3 separate regions of the Homo sapiens genome follow, and all the other regions are linked to region 3. Evidence: promoter capture Hi-C in human tissues and cell types (Jung and others, 2019). All regions are on one chromosome and are shown on one strand. The core of a region is centred on a gene start or on the middle of the fragment in contact, and the rest is flanking DNA. Distances in the headings are between cores, read along the strand shown.

Evidence for each region. Contacts are between HindIII fragments. The study calls those that stand out against the background at their distance.
Region 1: a fragment that was not itself captured here is called in contact with the fragment with the promoter of SIX6 in region 3 in 2 of the 25 tissues and cell types used here (dorsolateral prefrontal cortex and psoas muscle).
Region 2: a fragment that was not itself captured here is called in contact with the fragment with the promoter of SIX6 in region 3 in 4 of the 25 tissues and cell types used here (H1 embryonic stem cells, lymphoblastoid cells, neural progenitor cells and 1 more).

What each region holds. Positions count from the first base shown.
Region 1 is chr14:60,464,963-60,469,421 of GRCh38, reverse strand. It overlaps C14orf39 (chromosome 14 open reading frame 39), which reads left to right. Exons shown (of 18, transcript NM_174978.3): 9 at 886-977; 10 at 2,378-2,505; 11 at 3,367-3,443. Among named protein-coding and RNA genes, the nearest start is that of C14orf39, 19 kb to the left of the region's middle. The HindIII fragment of the contact is 6,931 bases long and covers 1-4,459 here.
Region 2 is chr14:60,555,627-60,560,231 of GRCh38, reverse strand. No RefSeq gene overlaps it. Among named protein-coding and RNA genes, the nearest start is that of SIX6, 49 kb to the right of the region's middle. The HindIII fragment of the contact is 7,153 bases long and covers 1-4,605 here.
Region 3 is chr14:60,506,459-60,511,153 of GRCh38, reverse strand. It overlaps SIX6 (SIX homeobox 6), which reads right to left and starts at 2,008. Exons shown (of 2, transcript NM_007374.3): 1 at 1,184-2,008; 2 at 1-70. The coding sequence starts at 1,755. It also overlaps a transcript of C14orf39 not described here. RefSeq lists an enhancer at 1-140. The HindIII fragment of the contact is 5,424 bases long and covers 1-4,695 here.

The DNA of each region.
Region 1 (4,459 bases), core at 1,242-3,741, 42 kb after region 3:
GTTTAAGATAATTTAGATTACCTTTGGAGCCAAAAGGTATTTTAGGTACTGAATATATTAATTTATATTTTTTATTAATTTTATTAATATATTTTATATTAATTTGTATATAATTTAATATATATATTTAGGTACTGAATATATTTTGGGGAATAGTTTAGCTTTCTTTGAGGTCTGAGGAGAGAACATGAGGAAGGAATAAGATGCAACATAGTAACAGGATTTTAAAGGCATTAAAAGATCTACGCCAGTGTTTTTTAAAAAGGTAGTAAATAAAGAATTTAAACTTGAAAAATATATGACTATAATCTTTAGCGAGCTAGGCTAGAACTAGTTTAGCCTTTAAACTTTTCTTGGAAACATTTGGATGTCATCCATGAAATTGTGGCTTTTATTTACATAGCTATGATAACCCATCAAAGTCGCTTCCAAATTCTGAGAAAAATTTGACTATGATACCTGATTTTCTAAATTTTTGAAAATTATGTTAAATACTGTATACTTATCTTTCATTAAGTATGAGGTACCAAATAACAGTAATATCATTTTAGTAAACAGAAGAAAGTAGATGCCATTTCCTTTAAAATATATGGTAACTGTCCTTAATGTAAGGAATCAATGTCTACTTTGCTTATAATTATCTGTTTTTAAAAAGATGGGAGTTTGTTAAAATCTACATTTGCCAATGGAATTGTAAGGAAAAGTTAAACGGGTGTGATTTATTGTTAATTTTGTTTTTGTTTTAATAACTGTAAATAGAAGATAGTAAATGCTATCAAAAATATGAATCTTATGATTATATAGAAAAAACATAAGATAAAGCATATCTTTTTTTACTGCTTTGCAAGTAATTATTTTGTTTTGTGTTCCCAATTGTCTTTTTAGCAGATATCTAGGCATAATGAAACTAAGGCTCTTTCAGAAACTCTGGAAGAAAAGAACAAAAATACAGAAAACAGAAAAGAACTGAAAGAAAGGTATAGGTAACCTTTAAAATTAAATTTTATGTGAACAGATATTTTGCATCTAAAAGTTTGATTCTATATTCCATCCCAAACCACTAATATTTACACAGTATCTGTAAATTTTGTTGTGCAGGCTATTTTCTATTAATTTCTTATGAAAAATATTATTAAATATTATGAGCTAATACTAAAATCTGCTTGTTATTTAGTAAGGCTGAGGATAATGTGTAAAGAGAAATAGAGTAGCAGCAGCACATCTGCTGTTCTAGAACCTGTCAGTTGTATAATTCATCCAGTGTTTTCCATGATGGGCCAGCAATAGGAGTAAAACAGAAACAATGGTGGGAATAGCAAGGTATTTACTTTTTTATCACCCTGTCCACCTTGACCAGTTCTTCCTTTGCTATAGAGTGAAGATGAGTCAAAGCATGCTACTAAATGTGTGGCATCATATTTCCTTGTCTTTTGTTTTAATGGCGATAAAATAGAGATCAGTGATAGAGGCCAAAAAAAAAAATAGATGGACTTTGCCTGTTATCATATGACAGAAAAATAGATGTATTACTATTGCTATTTCTGACCAGCTTTTACTTTTTCCCCCTACTTATATCCTTTTTCATTCTTCTGAAACTCCTTTCCTCAAGTTCCATGGCCCTTAATCTGATTTTTCAACACATTCTTCTGTCGGGTTAATTTCCCTGATCCTACTTTTTTTGGATGTGTTATTTTCTTGATTCCTCCACTCCCATGTACCACATTCAGTGCAAGTGTGTCTTTAATTTTATAATGAAGTTAATTGAAAAAATAGGTAAATAGACAGAATTTTACTTTATTGACCGCCTTTAAGAAAAATTCCATGTATTGACAGAAACATATAAATATTTAGTCATTTTTAACTCAATATATATTCTGACACTGTTTATTCTATTTCTTCAATTTAGATAAAATTTAGTGAAAACTATTCTTTCAGTAAAAAACTTAAAAGACCCATTTATGATTATAATACTGTTTTAACAATTTCTGTATTCATGTTGGTTGATTTATTTCTGAATATGTCTTTTTAAAGTTTAAAGTACCATGAAATCTGAAGCATGCTATTTGTAGTTACAAGTTTTGGCTTAAAATGTTTTTGACATGTGTAGGAAGTCTTTTGCAATGATTATATTTTAAAAATAAGAGTGGACTATATTGAGAAGAGCATTGAACTTAATCAGGGGAAGTGTGTTTTTGCTCTGACACCACTACTAAGTAATTCAGTCATTTTGGGCAAGTCTATTAAATTCTTTGGAACTCAGTTTTATTATCTGCAAAACGAGGGGTTTTATTATATAGTATCTAAATATGCCTCCTAGCTTTAAAATATGTTAATTTTAACTTATCTAATATTTAATGTAATTCACCTTTCTCTTTAGAATTTTTGGAAAAGATGAGCATGTACTTACATTGAATAAAACTCAAAGCAGTCAATTATTTCTTCCTTATGAATCTCAGAAATTAGTAAGACCAATAAAGATGCATTCTTCAGAACCAAGAGTTGCAGGTATAATATCTGTTTGTTATTCAAAAACATCATTTTTTTTGCAAACACACAGAAGAAATAGAAGGAAGCAATTTTATTTATCATTTGGTGTAAGTAAAAACAATACTGGAGACCTATAAACTCAAGAGAGTACTGCTTTGAATCTTTCTGAGAGCAAACAAAATATGTCTTCTATACGTAACTTTTTTCTCTTTGAGAAAGGAATTATTCACACAATAAATTTCAAAAAAAGTGTTCTGGCCTGGTTGCACAGCTGTTAGAGGAGGAGGAAAAATTACATATTTTTCATTTGAGGAGTTGATTATCAATATGTGTGACTTAGGCAGGTAAAAGACTTATGCTAATAGTATCTATAACTTAGTCACTGAGATATTTGAATCAAGTTTCATTCAGTGGCTCTGCAGATTAAATTAACTATTAGGTTGGTGCAAAAGTAATCATGGTTTTTGCCATTGCGTTTAATTAAAATTTAATGGCATTTACCATTACATAATGGTTTTGGCATTAAAAGTAATGGCAAAAATCATGATTACTTTTGCACCAACCTAATACATTATATTAGATTAACTACATTGGCTGGTTTCTTTGTCTTCTCAACCACTCTGTCTTCTTTGGTAACCCATTATAAAGGTACAGTTTTGTCAGTTGGCCTTTTGTCATTTCATCTTCATAGTTATTGTAAAGCTATTATATAGTAAGGAATTAAGAGTTTTAAAATAATTTCATAATTCCGTATTTTAATTTAAATTAAAAATTCATGTAGACTTGATTTTCTAAATTACAAGTTTAGGTTAAACATTGGGGAAGATACTTGATTCTGTTTCCAGCATTGATTTAAAGTAGTACTATTTAATAATCTAGATATAAAAGAAGAAAGTTCTGCGAAGCAGTCAAAGCTTGCCAATATTGACTTTAGACAAAAAGAAAATGATACACAGGTAGGTGTCTCACTTTTAGTAGTATAAATTAAATACCTGCTTGCATTAAATGTAATAATGAATGTACTGCCCTTAAGACACAGACGTGTGTGTGTGTGTGTGTGTGTGTGTGTGTGTGTGTGTGTGTTATAAATTTATTAAATCAGCCATTAGTGCAAACTCAAGGTCTAAAAAATTTAAAGGTGTTTCAATATGGCATTCTGATTATATACTGTAACCTGTCCCCTTATCCCTAAAAATAATAGAAAAAGATATTTTCAAATACCAAGCTCTGTACATAGTAGATCCAAAACTGTGAGAAATCCCTGAAGGAAAATAGCAGGATTGGATTGAAGAGGGAAATTATTGCCCAGGACATGCATAGGAGAATACCGTTCTACAAGATAAAGGTATACGGATGATGAGTAAGGTAATTGGTTGCGTTACCTCAGTGGTAGTTAGTTTACTTAACCCCCTGTTCATCTTATATCCACTGTATCTTTGGCCAGGCATCAGCAATGGAATGACTGTCTCCAGGTGGAAGCAGTGAATATGGAAGTTTAGGTGAGAGAGATAGGCAGGTCCCCTGGGTGGTTCTTGATGCCCATGAAGAACAAGGAGCATACCACCCAGAGAGCTAACTGCTGGTGGCACACTTTTTTATCTTTCCCCATTCTTCCTGAAAATAGTCCAGAGGGAAAGCCTCAATGAAAAATATAATTGTTCTTCCACTGGTAGTGGTGACCAAAGTAATTAGTGAAACTCAAGTGTAAATATGTATAACTTATAAAAATTTTTAAATCTGGTACTGAAATTCCAGATGATGTCAATATGTGATAAGGGTGGAAAGATAAATGAGAAAAATAAAAGTTTACCAGAGTTCTATTTTTTATTTAAGGATAGAGGTAGGGAGAAGATATGAACGCTGATGAACTCTATACATTGTTGGAAAAATGTAAATTTATGCATACATATTAAACATTTAAGGGTAACCACCAGAAGAGAAATGGAATGTGTTAGTTTTAAAACAGTAGAAG
Region 2 (4,605 bases), core at 55-2,554, 50 kb before region 3:
AATCACCGGTGGTGCTTGTTCAATACAGATTTCTGGATCCTACTGTAGACTTACTGAATCAAAATATCTGAGGGTGAGGTGGGGCCTGCAAATCTATCTGGATTTGTAACAAACTCCTTGAGTCACTTATGAACATTTAGATTGTGTGCCTCTGAAATGAAATCTCTCATTTCATCAGAAGAGGTAATGTTGTAAATTAGTGTTTCTCAAACTTTGGCATGCATCAGAATCCTCTGGTGGGCTTATTAAAACACAGATTGCTGGGCTCTCATCCCCTGAGTTTCTGGTTCATTTCAACCTAACGGATCTCAGACAGTGGAGCATTGCAAAATGCAAATGAGAAGTGAAGGGTTAGAAATGTTGGGTAGAGGCTGAAGCGTGTGTGTCTGTGTGTGTGTGTGTGTGTGTGTGTGTGTGTGTGTGTGTGTGTTGGGGTGATTGGGCATCTGAGATCTATCTAACTAGGAGTCTGACTTTTTTTTCCCTCCCAAGTCAAAGCCTGTTTTTCACAGCTTTTTTCTAATTCTCTCTAATCTTAAATCTTCCCCTATTAGTTCCAAGAGCAGTGATACTAAGAGGATAAACTGGGTGAGGAGAGGGCAGGCATTGTGCTCCATTTATTTAAATTTTCTGAAATTAGAATTTTACTTTGGACAGCAGGGGGCTCTCCTAACATTGTATAATGTGAAAGAGAGAAAAAAGTGATCCTTTAACCTGAAAAGACTAGAGTGACAAAATTTGCAATTAGGGAGTTCCTACATATTTGATTATCAGGTTTTCCCAGAAATTATAGTAATATTTAATATACTACAAATATTGGTAAATAGATAAGAACTATACATACTGGTAAACAGATATTATATCTTTTGGTAAATAGATAAGAACAATTTGTTAAACAAATGGAGGCTTAGAAGTTTGAATCTTTACTGTAGATGTTGGCTAATAAAATTTGTAGTGTGATAATTGCCAGATGCATGGGGCAGAGATGTGAGAATTAGTGAGTTTTTAAAAGAGACTATTCCAGACTCAAAGATTTTTGTTTGTTGTGTTTATTTATTTATTTTTGAGACAAGGTTTTACTCTGTCGCCCAGGCTGGAGTGCAGTGGTTGGATCGTGTGATCCTCCCACCTCAGCCTCCTGAGTAGCTAGGACTATAGGCATGCTTCACCACATCTAGCTAATTTTTGCATTTTTTGTAGAGACCGGGATCTTACTCTATTGCCCAGGGCGATTCACCCACCTTGGCCTCCCAGTGTTGGGAATATAGCCATGAGCAGCTGCGTCCAGATGTTTTATTTTCTAGACCAAGAAGCCTTCGTTCAGAGTTAATATTTCATAGGTAAGTTTTTTTTTATTGTAGATGAGGTTACGAAGTGAAATTCCCAATTGTCTCTATAAAATCGTTCTATAGTTCTGCCTTTTATTCATCTTGACAGAGTGAGGGAGCTTTCAAGGCAAATCAGGCTGTTTAAATAGACAATGATATTGCTCAGAGATTAGTTACTTGTGGGATCCTAGAGACACAGTGAATACCACATTGAGAAGATGACATATTTCCTCACCATTCCAAAGAAACTAGTTCCTAAAAAATAAAAGTTTGGTTTAGTAAAGAATGGAATCAAGGCCAGTTTCATGGGCCTGTGACTTGGACACTCAGACAGGGCCCTGTGCTTAGAGGAACCCCACGCTTGGTTTAATGCTTGCCTCTCGTCATCTTGAATTCTTAGTAATTTTGAAACAAGGGGACCCATATTTTCATTTTGCACTGGGCCCTGAAAATCATGCAGCTGGTCCTGAATGGAATAGATGATTGTCTTCGATACTCCTGTTGACTTTTCTTTAAAGAGGTCATTCTCAGCCTTAGATGCACTTTAGAATCACCTGGTGAGATTTTAAAATCCTTAATGTCCAGGCTGCCCCCAGACCGATTATGTCACAATCTTCATGGGTGGGTAGAGGGCATTGGTATTTTAAAAAATTCCTCATGTGATTCCAGTGTGCAGCCCAGGTTGAGAACCACTGTACATTTGGAGCCTAGCTTCTAGAACCTTCCTTCCATACTAATCTTTCCTGCTTGAATTATTCTTGCAGTTTAATGGGTTTGTAAGATTTTAGATTCTTCACACAGGCTTATGTGTTACAAGAATAAAAATGTATAGAATTTGAATTCTTTATATGATATGTTTTATTTTTATTACTATTAAAGATTGTGGCATTGCAAAGAATCTTAAATATGGATATAATCACCCTTGTAGTCCCTTTAAAGTAGCAAATTAATGTACCCTAGAAAGAAAAACCTCAGATATTTAGTGAAATTAAAACTGAACAGGGAAATAAATAGATTTTCTTCCCTTTTGCTAATGGCTGAATATTCACTAAGAAGCTTGCCCTGGCTGGGCCTGCTTCAGGTTTCATTAAATACCTCTTTTCTATCTGAAGGGTTTTTGGGGCACTAATTGTTTTTTCCTTTTGAGTCACCTGTGGGCTTTGGCAATAATCTAGAAGCGTCTGGTCTCAATCCTTCTGGATTACAGGAATTGAAGGCCCCAATTAGAGACCTGGGGTCCTGCAAGGGCAAATCCTTTTAACCTTAATTCACTGGGGGCCTCCTCTGAACAGAAGCTGTTTTTCTGCCTTCAACCTTACAAAACAGCACAAAAGGAATTGCTTTTTACTTAGTGTGTCTTCCTAAAGTTATGTATACGTACAGGTAATTTAGGGATTAATTCCAACCCTAGATATTTTATGAGGCAATAATTATATTAAATTATATTAAATCTTTCCACTTGTTTAGCTTTAAATTGGGCACTGAACAGAGAAATAGTAACTTCATTGCAAAGTCATTAGATGTTTAATGAAAATATTTGTAAGCTGGAACCCAAAGGTAGATGAAAAACAAAATCATCTTTTGGCTCTTGGAGCTTAGACATTCAGACTCACATGGAGGCAGCCTTTATTGCTGTGATTTATGACCAAGTTAGAATTGATGGTGAAAGCAAAGCTTAGAATAAAGTATTTTGGTATTAAACAATTTCTCTTTAGCAAACAGTTATTGGTAAGAGTGACCTACATAATTTATGTATATAATTTCAAATTTTGAAAAGTGAATTTGTTCTTTACATGTATTATTCTTTGAATTGAAATGTGTATTTTTTTTTTTTTTTTTTTTTGAGACAGGGTCTCATTCTGTCGTTCAGGCTAGAGTGCAGTAGCCTGAACATAGCTCACAGCAGCCTCAACTTTCTGGGCTCAAGCGATCCTCCCACCTCAGCCTCTCGAGTAGCTAGGACCACAGGTGTGTGCAACCAGACCTGGCTAAGTTTTGTAATTTTGTAGAGATGAGGTTTCTTCATATTGCCCAGGCAGGTCTGGAACTCCTGGGCTCAAGTGATCCACCCACCTTGACCTCCCAAAGTGCTGGGATTATGGGCATGAGCCACCATGCCAGGCTGAAATGTGCATAAGAATACCATTTAATGGCACTCACTGGAGACCAGATATTATGTTAGGTGTTTACATGTATTATCTCTAAATCTCAGAACAACCACGCAAACTAGTGATTATTGTTTCATTTTATTCTTTCTTCTTCAATTTTTTAGAAGAGTTTGAGAATTGCTTTAATCCTTTAATTGCTGGGTAGAATTCAGCAGTGAAGCCATCAGATTCTGGGCTTTTCTTTGATAGGATATTTTTATTACTGATTTAAAGCCCTTACTTGTTATTGGTCTGTTCAGATTTTCTATTTTTTCATGATTCAGTCTTGGTAGGTTGTGTGTCTAGGAACTTATCCATTTCTTCTAGATTATCCAATTTGTTGGTGTATAATTGTTCACAGTCATCTTTTATGATCCTTTGTATTTTCATGGTATCAGTTGTAATGTCTCCTATTTCATTTCTTCTGATTGAATTTATTTGAGTCTTCTCTTTTTTGAATTTTGTTTATCTTTTAAAAAAGCCACTCTTAGTTTTATTGTTTTTTTCCTACTATTTTTCTGGTGTCTATTCCATTTATTTCTGCTTTGCTCTTTAATATTTCCTTCTTTCTACTAACTTTGGGTTTAGTTTGTTCTTTTTCTAATTTAGTGAGGTGTAATACTATGTTATTTGAGATCTTTCTTCTTTTTTGATTTTGGTGTTTATTGCTATAAACTTCCCTCTTAGAACTTTTTTCTGCATCCCTTCGGTCCCATTTTAGACATGAGAAAACTGATCCTTTGAGAGGCTAAATGACTTTCCCCAAATTACACAGCCTGCAAGTACCAGAACTAGGACTCTTAACTTCCTCTTATCTTCAAACTCGGCCTCTTTCTATTATACTAGAAGTTGTAGGCATAATATTTCTTTAATGTGATAAAATACACATAACACAAAACTTACTATTTTAAGTATTAAGTGCACTTACATTATTGTGCAGCCGTTACCATTATTCATCTCAAGAATGTTTTCTTTGTCCCAAGTGGAAACTTTGTGTCTGTTAAACAATAACTCCACATTTCCCTTTCTCCCCAGTTTCTGGTACCTCTATCCTACTTTTTGTCTCCATGAATTTGACTCTTCTAGATGCCTCATATAAGTGAAATAATACAGTATTTGTCCTTTTGTGT
Region 3 (4,695 bases), core at 759-3,258:
CTCTGGCGTGCCGTCGCCCTCCGCCCGTAGTGCCCGCCCGGAACCCTGTGACAGGACCTGCTGCTGGAGTCTACGGGGAAGAAAGGGAACACGGGTCACAGCTCGTAACACAGCCGCCCGTCGCCCGCCCCCACCACCTCCTGCGTCCCTCCAGCCCGGCGGCTAGAGGTTCTTCCGAAGACCCCAGCAGTTAAGGCGAGGATTACTCGGCAAGGCGACAGAGGTCGGGCAGGAGTCCGCGGCCGCCCCTCCGCGGGTCCCTACTGTTGTGCCCCACCATGATTCGCGCCCTTTCTCAGCGCCGCAGCTCCCAGGTCTTTTATATACTGGGCTTGCAGTGTCCTCCCTGTTTGTTGTGCACTTTTGGGAGATTTACAGGACTGTCAGGAAATAAACGAAGTGTGGGTGACAAGGACAGATCGGTCCCAGGGACATGGGATACCATTTCTAACGGTGCGTCTGCCTGGGGCTTACGCCTGAGCAAGTGCTCCCGCGATCGCGTTGGATCGGGTCGGCCCGACCTAAAGGCAAAAAGGATTGTAAGGAGCATTTGGGCCTGGGGGATGAGGCCGGGCTCTTCCGCAAAATGTTTGGCTAATCGAGATCCACACTCCGGGAAACGAAAAGCCTCGGCCCACGGACTAGTTTGCTGTTTTGAGACAAGAGTGGCAGGCAGCGCATGGGAAGAGGAAAACTCGACTTCCCATTTCTCAAAAGTCCATTGAAAACTGTTTTCAAAGCATTAGGGAGGGATATACCTGGGCTTTGAAAATGATAATTAACATGAAACCGACACATTGCTAATAAGCCAGGCTTCGATTAATAGTAGGAGCCTGTGCCCAGGCTGACAAGAATTAGCTTTGGGTCTTGGGGTCCCTAACTGTTTGTAGGATTTTAATTTTTTATTTCTCTTCCCCTCTCCGTCCCAGTGAAGCCTTGGTTTGGTGACCGGGACCAGCTGCTGCAGCTGCCCGCAGGCGTGGGGAGCCAGCGGGTGGGGAAGCAGAGCCGGCAAGGGAACTCCCGGCCAGGAGCCCAGAACGCAGGGCTCTTAACCCAAGACAGACCGCGCTCCCAACTCCTGCTGAATTGGAGTCGCCAGGGACTGGGTAAGGGCGCCAGAGGTGCCTCCACCCGCCTCCTCCCCGGTGCGCTCAAAGCGCGGAGGCCTCTAGGTACCGACCTGTTCTTGGCTGCAGCCGCTCGGTCCCTTTGTCGGCGGTTTTTGAACCAGTTGCCCACCTGCGTAGGGGTCAGTCCGGTTGCCTGGGCGAGCTCACGTTTTTTGCTGGGGTTAGGGTATGGATCCTGCAGGTACCACTCGCGTAGCAGGTGCCGCGTGCGCTCCTTGAAGCAGTGTGTCTTCTGTTCGCCGTCCCAAATGGTGCGCGGCAGCGGGAACTTCTTCCTTACTCGGTACTTGTCCACAGGTCCCAGGGGTCTTCCACGCAGCTTCTCAGCCTCCTGGTAGTGTGCTTCAAGCCACAGCGCCTGCAGCTTGGCGTGCGACTCCTTGGTGAACTTGTGGTTTTCCAGGATATGATAGAGCTCGCGGTAGTTGCCACCGTGAAAGGCCACGATGGCTCGTGCGCGTAGCACCGACTCATTCTTGTTGAGGGCCTCGCAGGCCGCAGGGGCCACGGGCAGCGACCAGAGGAAGCGACCCAGGCGCTCCACATCGCCGCTCTCTTCCAGGGTCTCACATACCCCGGCCACTTGCTGGGGGCTGAAATTCAAGATGGGCAGCTGGAACATCGAGGCAGTGCCGGCGGCGGCGAGGGCACTGAGCCCGGAGCGGGACACGCAGCAGATGCCCGCGGGCCTGGCTGAGTGTGCCAGGCGCTTGTTGATGAGGCGGATTGGGGCAGCGGGACACACTACCGGGTGGCGGCGGTGGCTCAACGGCCGGGAGCGGACGACCCCGACTGGAGGAGGTGCTGGCTCCGCGGCTTGGGGTTCGGGCTCGGCTCGGCTCAGGCACGCCGGCAGGCGAGCTGGCTCCGCTATTGGGGTGGGCGGATTGGCGGCGCGGGCGCCATGGAGACCCCCTGTCAGTCACCGGGTGGCTCTGCCAATCAAAGCTTGAATCAGCACGCCAGGACTATTTCAGCACCTCCCCGTGCTCGACAGCGCCCGCCGTTAGCTCCTGGACTTTTCTTCAGTATTTTGCAGAACCTGGAGGTTGAAAAGACATGCGAGTGTCTGGGAGAAAAAGAGAGGCGAGTGCGGCAGCGTTCACTACTCCTCCCTCCCCCACCCCGCTCTACCCCTCCCTCCCTTTTTCCCACCAAATAGGCAGTGATGCCACAGGAATTCAGGAATTCACTTTGGGGCGATGCGTTGTCTCGGTCGAGAGGTCTCCAGAGGACAAAGAGGACTGGGCCAAACTGAAATGCTCCGAGAATTCGCAAGTTTAGTTGTAACGAAACAGCAAACCTTGCGGTGGGAGCAGGAAGCCGGTGGGGGGAAGCGATCTTCTCATTTTTCCCAAGTACCCATCTCTGCATGCCTCCCTCTTCCCCTTTCCAGTTGCCAAAGCAGCTGAGTGGGAAGCAAATCTGGAGCAGCAGGAACAGGACCAGGGATCTGTAGAAGAGGTCAGTTTGAACTCTAGCCTTACTCCCTTCAAAGCCCACTAAAATAATTTTAAATGCCAACAAGGACATGTTCACGTCTGATAACGCAGATGCAGACCACGAAGTCAGACACTTTAAGAAAAGAAGGGTGGGCTGTAGGGACCTCCAAATAAAGGGGGAGAAATATACTTTCTCCCCCTCCCCCAGTTTAATGGACTTGAACAAAGTGCAGCATAGCCACATCTAGAGCCGAGAAGTCATTGGTAGGTCAGGACAGCAACTTAAAAGCTTATTTCCTAGATCTTTTTTAAAATATCGACTTAACTCCTTTCCTTGTAGGCTTATTTTGCCCCTACCTTGTGTTAGAACTTATACCTCTTGAGCTGGGGATAACAACTCTAACCTTGGCATTTTAGCTCAAAAACAATTCAGTAAAAATACAATACAGAAGGGCATCCACGACAATGCGGGGGCCCAGAAAGCACTTCCTAAGCCGCTGATTATTGACCCCTCCTGTAGTGAGGAAGGAGTGGCTTGGTGGCTCTGACTTTGGGCTAGTGGAGTGAATTGGCAACTTTTATTGATTCCCAATTGGCAGTCCACATCATACCATTTTCTGAGGCCTGGGTCAAAGAAACCATGATCTCATCTGGGCCTGTGGTAGGGGTTTGTTTAGTTTGAAGAAAATAACTGGTAGGGGGCTGTATAACAAAAACGCCAGGAAAACCGTTTTGGGGAGGTCCATCCCTAGACAGAAATCAGGTGAGAACGTTCACAGCCGAACTGGACTGGACCCGACTGTCTTTTCTTTAGTATCAAGTACAATTTGTATGCGGCTTGTACAGATCTGGTAAATCAGAAGGCAGATAGATAGCACAGATGGTTGGAGGTGTCGGGTCAGATCACGCCACGCCTGAGTGCAGGGCAAAGCTCGTTCTGACGGAAAACCCTGATATTATTTTCACAGATCTTCACAGTTCACTCGAAAAAAATAGCAGAGGGGAAGAAAAAAGCCCTGAAACCATTTACATCATTTCTGTGAGATTGCCAACCGCCTCAACGGAGAGGCTTTCTTTTCTAAGAGTTCATTTTCTTGAAATACGACAAGGCAGGGGCAAAATAAAGAGGGCGATGAAGATAATGACAAAGCATAAACCTTCTTTCCCTTGGAGCGACTTCCGAATCAGCCGGAAGGACAACTTTTAGAAAGAAACATCGGATACAAGGGCCCCGAACACGCAGGCGGAGGAGAATCCGCGGTGCAGAAAAAGAGGGCCTCGGTGGCCGGGCAGGGATGAAGCCGGACCCGGGAGGGCTGCGATCCCGGAGCTTCTGGCCAGGGGAGGAAAGCACCCCCTTGCTCCAGTTTGCAGAGGTTTATTTTCCCTCTCGGGGTGGTTACTTTGCCGGCTATTGCTCGCGAAATTGCTTGGCGCTCACCCTTAGCGCGCAGAAGAGGCGGTGGGGTCCGCGGAGACCTTACAGCCCGCGAGCCGAGCCGAGAGCCGACCCCGATCCCAGCGCCTAGCTGCTGAGGTGGGAGAGGTTGTCCATGCCCCAGGAGACCACACGTCTCCCTCTCGCCCTTTTACTGGACAGTTTGGAAGCGGCACATTCGGGGAGAGCTGGTTTCTTACCCTTAATCTTTGTGAGCAAGTGGACAGTCTAGGGGCCCCATCCAGGAAATGGGAATATTTATCCCATGGCCCATTTCTTGGATAATAGTTCTGCAAATAATTAGATGAGGGCGCTTTAGCTTCTGCGTGTCTGAGGCTCGCGGGCAACTGGAACTGAGAGTCTGAGTTGGCCTCGCGGGAGCCGCCAGAAGGGTGCGGGCTGCGTGTGGCAGAGTAGGAGCACTGTCTGGTGGCTTGGCAGGAAGGGACTGAGAAGTGCCTGGAGGTTGGGGACTACTATCAGGAGATCCATCTTCGCCATCGCAAGGGACTTGATTTAATTTTATTAACCCAAAGGAAATAGACTGCGCCAGGGCACCTTGGAATCACTTATTTGTTCACCAGCTTCACAAGGGGAAGGGACGAACAGGAAGAAGTATGTGAGCCGAGCCCCCTGGGAAAGAGGGAAGCTCCACGGGATTCCTTAGGAATAACCCTCTTTT